Regions from separate parts of the Homo sapiens genome. Here region 1 is linked to region 2. Evidence: promoter capture Hi-C in 16 types of primary human blood cells and fetal thymus (Javierre and others, 2016). All regions are on one chromosome and are shown on one strand. The core of a region is centred on a gene start or on the middle of the fragment in contact, and the rest is flanking DNA. Distances in the headings are between cores, read along the strand shown.

Region 1 (5,023 bases), core at 2,418-4,917, 190 kb after region 2:
ATTCATAAAATCTACCTTCCCCTTCGTAGTGGGAAATAAGCAAAGTCAAAGGTTAAAAGGTCATGCATAAAATAGATCCACCAAGATAATTATATAATAGTCTTAAATTCTTCACAAATCAATAAAACATTAATTTATACTTCACTATACAGCACTTCAAGGTTTTTCTTTATATATTAATGTTTATATTTCACAGACAATTTTACAAAAAGATTATCATTTTTTTCATAAAATAGGAAAAGAAAGCCACAGTACTAAAAAAAAAAAATCAATCTGCAGAGTGTAAACATTTTTTATAAGAATACAAACTAAAAGAACAATGAAACTCAAGTACATTATCAGAAACAGTGGTTGACCTCTTTTTTCCTTTACTCCCTTTTCATCTGAGAGAGCCTTTTAGAGATCCGGAATCATTTGCTGTCTGCAATTACTATAGGCTTTGGCTCACAATTCTGGGGAAAATGCCAATTGAAGGAACCCTGCCTATACATTTTATTTTCTTTTTCTTCGAGACAGACAACCTCAAAATAAGGTCCAAATATTGGTTCCTTCAAATGGTGTCAAAAAGAATAGTATTATATGAGGAGGATAGTTATCACAGAATAAGAACTAAAATCCCATTTTTTTTTTTTAGGAAAAAAAGACCTTCGATGATGCAGGTGTCTGTGTATAAGGAACTATGACCTACCAAAAAAACCACCACATAAGGAGAGGCCAATATAATTTGCCAGTCTGACAAGACAGTTGGTATTATAAGTGGAAGAGACCTCAAGGATCACATAATTCAGCTCTTTGATTTTAGAGGGAGGAAAGACGAGGCCCAGAGATGGGAAGTGGCTTGCCTAAGTACATTAGCAAGTTAGCTTCAATGGTTATTTTTATACACACACAGGCACACATACATACTGTTGCATTGACTTCTGTTTTGTACATAAAATGCTACTGGCTCATACAATACATCAATAAGTATGCAACTTTTCATTTGTTATTTCGTTGCTGGAAGTGGGAAATACCCCATCTTCCCAGGAGTGAAATGGTTCTACTTTCTCTCCGTGGTGCCCTGTATCATTACTCAGCTCTGCTGCTGCTCTCCGCAGCCCCTAAAAGTAGCATGGATCGGGGAAGAAGGAAGGACGGCAGGAAGGCAGGCAGAGATCCTCAACTCAAATCACAATTGGAGTGTCTTGTTGTGTCAAAGATGTTCCCACTGGCAGTGAAGACTTTACATGAAGTTAAGCTTGGGCTGTTGAAACTTCCAGACCTGGCTGGAAGGAGGAGATGGGGGATCTAGGCAACACCAGGTGCCAGTGTACGCCCTTCACTCAGAACATGAGCTTGTGTTCCTCTGACCCTAAAAAGCGGAGATGAGCAGTGTGTGCCTTGCCTAAGCTACTGAACTATAAACCTAGATGACTTTACTAGGCGCAGTCATAGTTTCTAATTATTTTAACTTGTATATGCATATAAACACGAAAATATTTATGCCTATGTTATAGTAGTATTAATAGCTGTTATATCATTTCCACAAAATTACACGTGGTTATAACTGTAGGGAAGGTTTTAAAACCCTAAGGCAGTTTTTTAAAAAATACCATTGTTTTTAATATTTATTATGGACATCTTTCTGAAAAACCTTAAGTCTAGCTATGTATATTAACATTAAATAACTTAAAAAAATAAACAATACATTATATTGTAGCAAAATAGCTCCATTTTAAAGCCATATAAGTGAAAAAATTGAGTTTTCAATAATAGACTAGACCTTCTAAAGGTATTTTTAACAATTTTGAACTAATATTAAATGTATTTTCTTTTTTGACTATGCCAAGTATATTCACACTGCTCTTGGTACTTTATGTCAGAAGTATTTTTATGTGAAACACTAGGTTGTTTCATTTGTCTGTTTTTACTTGCTCTATAATGAAAAGTTTACTCTAAATCTAAATAAGTTTGCTCCCAAATATCTCCCCAAGGAGAAGGGGGACAGCATAACCAAAAACACAACAAAAACCTAATGATATATAGATATCCAGTGCATGCGACTTCATATTTTCTAATAGTGGTAGAAAGTAACTTTCAAGTATTCCTGTAATCCAACTGGACTTACAGATAGCGATCTCATAAAATGAACATTCTAGAGGAAGAAAGTCCTTTGAGAAACTTGTTCTTTCCAGAAAACCTTTGCCAAAATTCCCATAGGAAACAAAACCATCCATTCACAAAAGACCAGAGGGTACTTGGTCCCCAGTACTGACCTGAAAGTGCACGCATTTAATACTGCTCTGAACTCAAGGTTAACTCTAGCAGAATTAAGGAGTCCTCGTTTTTTTAACTTATTAAAGGTCACTCTATGATCCAGAGCTGGAAGAACTGCTTCTAAAAAGAACGTCCTAATGAAGGCAGGACCCAAAGTTATTTCCAGTTCCTAGTCCTGCTTTCTGTAGCTGTAGGTATCAGTATAGTTGGCTAAGATAACAAGAACAGAGAGATTGGCCCACTCTGGGAACCAAATTTACATGTTTTGCACTTAAGTTAGTCAAATTCATTTTTAAAAATTAGGTTATCATAAAGACTTCAGTTATGGAATAGAAATTCCATAACTCGCAAGTAGAGGGGAATGGGAGGAAGAATTAGTCAACTAAAAAGTGCATGTCTTTCCAAAGCAGGTGTAGGAGGTCAAGAGGGGCTCGAGGCTTCTGGAAGTTTTGCTCCTTTACAGGTTTTGATCTAGCCACTTGATGTAACTATTCCTAGTCCGGATTCCCACTGAGAAGTTGGTGGGCCAGCTAGTGAAAATCATACATCCGTGAAAGCCATCCTCAAAGTGATCCAGGGTCACCTCCACACCGGCACTCTCCAAACGCTTGGCATACATGATGCCATCGTCTCTGAGGACATCATGCTCACACGTCAGAATGTAGGTCTTTGGGAGGAGCTGCAGCACTGCCTGGTCTGCAATGAGTGGGGCGGAGCGGGCATCCAGCAACTGAGGAAGCTCCTGGACAATCCTGGCATTGCCTGTGGTCTGTACAACAGGCTTGTAGTTCTTTGTGAAGGATGCAGGCAAGAGGGATGTCCAGTTTAGACGGGCCCTGACAGCAGCAGCCTCTTCCACATCAAGTGAAGTGTGATTGTTAACGATCATTGCCTGCACAAAGTCATAGTTGCCTTTGAAGTAGTCCACCCAATACTTCACCATGACATAGCGGGGCAGGATTGGGGTGTTCACATTTTGCTGATAAGATGGTGTGTTAAAATCTAAAGCTTGAAGAACTGGATAAATTAAAGCTTGTAGTTTGAGCTTATTTTTTAGGCTGGCATCTTGAGTAAACTAGAGAAGAGGAAGCAAATACATTATTTCATTTTGCATGCCTTCTTTTATAGGAACCATACCCTGTAGAGTAGCTTCATGTGTTACTCTGAATCTGTCAATGGTATAAGTGTTACATTTCTACCAGGCACTGTATAAATAATAAAGTTTAAAAAATAATTCTCCATCATTACCATCACCACCCTATCAAGCTGCTAGATATTTAACTAAGAAAGGTATGATGTTTACAACTCAGTTTTGAGTGAACCCTGTACTTGTATCTATCTTTAGGCAGTTAAGACACCTAGGTATTATGAATGGATAATGTGTGAACCTTATTTAATTTTTTATTCCCTACAAAACCCCCAAAAAGGTCATGGCTTCCTAGGGGGAAAAAAATTAGTCTTATTCTTCCAGAAGAGAGGGGCAGAAAAAACTTAATAAGCAGATTATGAGACTCCTGAGTGTTTAAGTAGGACCTCAGGGTATGCTTTCTGGTGAGCATCTTCACGCTTGGTGAGACAGAATTTAAATAGTTCTGGCAATGCACCCTCCATTCTACATAATGAGCATATGCCAGAGTGAAGTTGTCATGGGAATGTGAATGAATCCCCTACCTCAACAGATCTCAGTCCCCCAACACCTCCCCACAGTGTTAACATTGCCCCATTTTGTAATTCTAGTGTGCAAAATTATATATTTGTCGTGTAACATCTAAAAGAAAGCTAACTAGTCATGAAGCTTCATAGACAACTAAATGATCTTCAAGGTAACTTTAGCCATACACTTCTGCTTCATACTTGGACTTTAGAAACCCATTCCCAGGTGAGATATGACTGCTCTCCAAAAGCAAGAATGGTCAGTAAATAGCACTTTGAATATGTGCCAAAAATTGTATACACATCACCTCACTAAGTCCTTGCAACAGCCCTGCAATCAGATGACACTGTCCTCGTTTTTCTGAGGCTCAGAGAGGTTAAGGGACTTATCCAGGGCCCCGCAGCACTCAACGGTGGGTCCTGGGTTAGATCCCAGTGCTGTCTGGCTTCAAAGCCAAGAATGTTCTCTCCACTGAGCCAAGACTCTCTTCTGACCATATTTGGATGGAAAACTTGCCAATGCCAAATGGAAAATCAAGTTCTTGAATTATAGCAAAAGAGTTAGAAGCCAAGGTACATCATAATTAGAATGACAGATGGTATTTGAGGACACCAAATGAAATTTGGAGGTGAGAAGACAAAGATGTCTTAAGTTACTTCATCCATAACAGGAAGAAAATGTGCTTTTTCCCACTTGCCAAAAAAATTGGGGTGCTATTAGAAGCTAGATATAGTTTTCAAAGAATTAAACCAGGTAAAGCTCATAGTAACTTGTAAGATAATATTTAAATGGCTGAATCGTTTAATTTCTTTCTTTTACATTAAAAAAAAGTTGGGGAAACAAATTTTAAGGTTTTAATTTGGCTCAAAGTTGTAAGGAACAATCTTAGGAACTGGAATTTAAGCAAAAATACTCCGATTTGCAAGTCAAACATGAAAAAGGAGCAGGGGATACTGGAGTTCCATACATAGCCCTGAGAAGCAAGGGATGTCAGCCCTTCTCTAACACTGACTGTAATCAGGGACTTTACAAAGACTCATAGGTGATACTTCCTCCAATGACTCATCTTCCTACTTCAACGAGATCTCTGAGAGCTCTACAAGTGTAATCACA
Region 2 (5,147 bases), core at 1,032-3,531:
TTTTTTAGTCGTTGTAACACTTTAGTGATCCCCTTCAAATTGTCAAGGAAGAAGAAAGTTAACATTGGTGTTGAGACACCAATGAAGAAATTAATGGCTTGAAAATAAAATTGGAGGAAATTATTAAACTTATCCTTAAAACTAAGTTGTATAGTAGCAACTTAACTGCCACAGTAACAATGTGACTCTCGTAGGTGAGAGCTTAGGATCCCTTGGAGGACACTAGCAGGTTTATAACCTATGAGTCATATCACGAGAATCACCGGTCCAGAAAATAAAATCTTTGACATTCCTTGAATAAACTCTATCACTTTAATATGGAGGATCCAGGAACTGTAAAATTGGAAATATGAAATCATCCTGGAATGGCTTCTAAGAAGCCTTAAAATATGCCATTAAGTATGAAGTCTTGACTATAATATCTAAATAATAAAATATACAGACCTTGGTTTTGAAAATGCAAGTAGAGTTAATATTTTGCTGGGCTGTAACCATATTTATTATTACTTCACTTGTACCAAACACATATACTTAAAGAAGCTGAATTTGTGCAATAAACATTCAGCAAATCCAGTTATGACATTGTGCCCAGATGTTCCTGAAGGGTCATTTGGGGAAGTAGTGAATTCTGTTGGTTTCCACAAAGTCTCCTTTCCTCCTGTTGGAGCTTTGTTTAATCTAGTTTATCCTTACCTTATCCTAGTCTATCCTACCTGAAGAGGCAGGTAATCATAAAAACAAATGAGACTTCACTGATTTGTCACTGACTTCCTTACAAAGCTGTATGAACAGCAGCAGGGTAAACAGAATTGATGCAATTATCTGAAAAAATGCAGGGCAGAAAACAAATCACAATATTGAAAGAAAAATGAATAATCTCTAAGAGGATTATCCAAATTGATCATGTCTTTGGTTGAATTTACCGCTGAACGCTTTCTAGATCCAAACCCTGCTTTTCTTAATGTAACTTAGATATTCACAAATCCTACTTGAGGCAGGAAGTCAGTCCTCACTTTTAACGCTTAAAGACCACAATGGACTTTTATAAGATATCTCGATTTTTAAAGTGGAGTTTCTGGGCTGATATAAAATTTATTTTAGGGAAATACAAATATGGGACATTTTTGCATGAAAGAGAGAAAGGAGAGACAGGAAGAAAGAGACACAAAGAGATAGAGACGGTAAGAAAGACACTGACAAAGTAAAGGGGGAGGAGAGAGAGAGACAGAGACAGAGAGAAAGATTGAGAGATCAAAAACATCACTCAAGAAAGCAAGAGGAGAGAATAATTGAGAGAAACGCAGAGAGACAGAGGCCCAGAGAAACTGAAGAAAGAGGTAGCGACTCAGGGGGAAATAGAGATGGAGACTCAGAGAGAAGGGAGAAGGCACAGGGAGAGGATAGGACCCGCGAGAGAAAGCCTGAGCGCGCGCTGAGACCCACCCAGCATTTTCACGGTTTGCTTGTGGTTCTGGTCCCTGAGCGAGGCACCCACGACAGCATCGCCGCGCCTCCTCCGCCACAGCTTCCTGCCGATGAGACTGTAGAGGACCGTGAGACAGAAGACAGGAAGGAAGAAGAAGATGCTGGACACCCACACCATGACCGTGAGCAGTCCAGAGCGCACCGCAAACTCGGTGGGGCGGCACTCGTTGGTGTCCCAAGGGTCGGTGCCGTTCTCGTGCTCCACCCCGACTAGCACGAAGATGGGCCCGGCGCTGCAGAAGGCCACGGCCCAGATGACGAAGATGACCAGCTTCACCCGCCCCTTGGTGACCACCACCTTGGCCCGGAGTGGGAAGCAGATGGCGAAGTAGCGCTCGACGCTCAGCGCTGTGATGGTGAGCACCGTGGCGTAGGTGCAGCTCTCACTGACGAATTGGAAGAGTTTGCAGAGGAGGTCGCCGAAGTTCCAGGGCCGGTACTGCCAGAGGCGAACGAGGTCCAGGGGCATGCAGAGGAAGATGAGCAGATCGGAGAAGGCCATGCTGGACAGGTAGAGGTTGGTGGTGGTGCGCAGCTCGCGGAAGCGCGACACCACCAGCATGGTGAGCAGGTTGCCAGCGATGCCCACCACGAAGAGTGCCACGCAGGTGGCTGTGACGCCCGCCAGCAGCGGCGCGGGGAAGAGCTGCAGCAGCTCGTCGCCCAGCGAGTCGTTGCCGGGGGAAGCATCCCAGTCCAGGTCGGCCAGTGTGAGGTTGAACCCCGGCTCTTCGCTGGGCGTCGCGTTCCACATGCTGCCGGCTCAGCTGAACAGGCTCTGGGACGTGACTGCGCTGGGAGGCTGGACCGAGCTGGCTCCCGAGGAGGTCCGCTTAGGCGCGGGAGGGTGCGAGGGAGGAGCGGGTGCAGACGCGTAGGGAGGATGCTTGGAGAAGAAAGAGAGGGAGGTGAGAGGCAGAAGCCGAGGAAGAAGGTGAGATGGGGACAAGGAAGAGGGAGAGAGACTGGTGGTCAGTGGGTGAGAGAGTGACCCACTGCTTTCTCTGACACCTCCCCTTTCCCCCACCAACTCCCCCAAAGTTTCTCCCAACACATCCTCCGGCCGGCGCCCACACGCATACCTGTCACCAGCCCTGCCTCGCATTTGCGTTCTCGATCCAGTTCCATCTCGCACTTCCCAAAGCGTCGCAGCGAGTGGGGACCGCAGGGACCAGGCGCCGCGAAGCGGGAGCGTGAGGCGCTCTCTCCGAAGCCCTGGGCGACGCTGGACTAGTGTGCCCCGGAAGGACAGGTCACACCCGGGGGTGGGGGTGAAGACGACGGTGGCGGTGGGGAGGACACCTTTAGCAGCTGGGACCTGATTTCTTCCTCCACAAGGCTGCAGCTGGCTATGGCCCTGGTGGAAAGAAAAAGCGAGCTTGACCAACTCGACTTGGGAAGGGGGATAGAGAGAGAAAAGAAGGACCTTGTGTTTGTATTCATACCGGTGAGCACCAAAGAATAGTCTCACGCAGTTATAGGACCCAGGTTCAGCGATGTGACTACTTGTCCAAGGTCACACAGCGAGCTGGGGACTCGGGGACCAGTGTCGGATCTCCCACCCGGTTGGGACTTCTGAGCGCACAGGGGCAAGATATGTGAGTAAACCCTGTCCAGAATCCCAGTCCTTTGTATCACTCGGTAGTGGTAGAGAGTCTGCTGTAGGGTATATTACTTTTGCTTGATGCAAACCTGGTGGCGGGGTGCCGAGGTTGGTCAGGGAGGGAACAGGAGAAAGGAAAAAGGCAGGGTTGGAGGTGTGTGGAGGCGGCAAGTGAAGAAGAGGCTGTGAGGCTGGCGCGTCGAGAGTGTGCAGGAAACATTTTTTGAGGCATAACTGAGAGAGATCAGCCATTTAGTAGCCGTATTCCCTTGGGCAAGGTCTTCAACCTCCTGAGCATTACGTCTTTTTCTTTGAATTGCAATGATTTGTGCGGACCACTGGGGGTGATATCAAGTGTCAGGGACCACCGGAGGCACTCAATAAATAGAAGACGCGTTGCTGTTGAGAAGTAGAAGCTGTGCCGGTGGGAACAGGTCAAAGGCCACCCCTACACTAGCAAGGTGACCCTCTGGACGCGGTCTGTGCGTCTCCTGCTCAGAGCCAGAAATCAGCACCCGAAGGCATGAGACTGCCAGTTGCCAGCGAATTCACAAATCCGACCGGCCCCTCCCGGCCCACCGACCTCGGGACCGCCCCAGGAACATATTCAGCACTGTGGCCAGCGCCACATCCATCCTACCGCAAAGCGCCGCTGGAGGAATGGCTTCCCTGTCACTCCCACCGTTTTTAACTTGCGCTTCTAACGCCTCAGTCCTACCCCACGGAGGAGCAGGGCAGACTCCCACGAAGCACAGGCCGGCGTTAGTCACTGCCTTGACCATACACATCGGCGCTCACCCGATGAGATACCACGTACTGTGTATGAGAGAGTATCCCCCTCAGTTGAATGCGTTTGTACTTGCCTTTCACAGACAGTTTGTACCACCTCTACTACCTAAATTGTTAATACTTAAAAGTCCACAAAGACCTAAGACTGAATGTGTGCACAAATGCGTGAAAGACTCCATGCAGTAAATTACTACATGAGAGAAGTTTGATACAGGAAATTTAACATAGTGGTTTGGTTGCCGCTGGTGTGTTAGACATTGGACCAAACTGAGTTTTGTTTCGTTTTGCTTTGTTTTGTTTTGTTTTGCTGGTTTTGTTTTGTTTTGTTTTGAGACGGAGTCTCCCTCTGTCGCCCAGGCTGGAGTGCAGTGGCGCGATCTCTGCTCACTGCAACCTCCGCCTCCCAGTATTGGATCTCCCACCCGTTTGGACTTCTGAGCGCATAAGTCCAGGTTCAAGCAACTCTTCTGCCTCAGTCTCTCTAGTAGCTGGGACTACAGGCGTGTGCCACCACGCCTGGATAATTTTTTTTTGTATTTTTAGAAGAGACAGGGTTTCACCATACTGGCCAGTCTTGTCTCGAACTCCTGACCTCGTGATCTGCCCGCCTCGGTCTCCCAAAGTGCTGGGATTACAGCCGTGAGCCACTGTGCCCGGCCCCAAATTGAGTTTTTAAAACATTAATTTCAGACTACTATTTTTTAAGTATTACAACTAAGTCAAACTACCAATTACAAACAAGTTTTTATTTAATCAATAACTTTGTTACTCCCTGACCTATATTATCAGTAGGTTGATGTATGTGGAAAGAAAGGGAGAGAAAGTGGACTGGGATAAATCAGAATACTATGGGAAGTTATTGCCTAAGACTGAGAATCAGGAAAATATTGTTGGATATATTTCTAGTCTACTCAGTGCTAAAGCTATGGCTGATAGTTGAAAAAACTGAAAACAAAAACCACCAAAACTATTGTGATAAAAAAAATTTTCATGTTAGCTAAAATAGCCAGCCATTTAATGGCACTCAACCAGTTTCTAAAATATAGACAAATCTATATTGCATGACCAAGAAGAAACAGAGGGTGCTATTGTAGTTGCTCTATTTATTCACAACATGTGAAATATTATGTAATACCGTATATAAAACTATCTCTAGTAAGTGGTAGGTACTAGGATAACAAAATAAATAAAACCCAGACAGATCCTATATTTATAAACTTATAGTCTAGAGAGAAAAATACAGTTAAATAAGTAATGCTAGTACAGTATT

Evidence for each region. Contacts are between HindIII fragments. The CHiCAGO score rates a contact against its expected background, and 5 or more counts as called.
Region 1: a contact is called between a fragment that was not itself captured here and the fragment with the promoter of GHSR in region 2, in 1 of 17 cell types (activated CD4 T cells). The highest score is 5.9, in activated CD4 T cells.

The regions. Positions count from the first base shown.
Region 1 is chr3:172,630,762-172,635,784 of GRCh38, forward strand. It overlaps NCEH1 (neutral cholesterol ester hydrolase 1), which reads right to left. Exons shown (of 5, transcript NM_020792.6): 5 at 1-3,331. The coding sequence ends at 2,714. Among named protein-coding and RNA genes, the nearest start is that of LINC02068, 38 kb to the left of the region's middle. The HindIII fragment of the contact is 763 bases long and covers 3,287-4,049 here.
Region 2 is chr3:172,446,175-172,451,321 of GRCh38, forward strand. It overlaps GHSR (growth hormone secretagogue receptor), which reads right to left and starts at 2,282. Exons shown (of 2, transcript NM_198407.2): 1 at 1,444-2,282. The coding sequence starts at 2,239. RefSeq lists enhancers at 1,441-2,208, 3,160-3,660, 3,661-4,161. The HindIII fragment of the contact is 14,293 bases long and covers 1-5,147 here.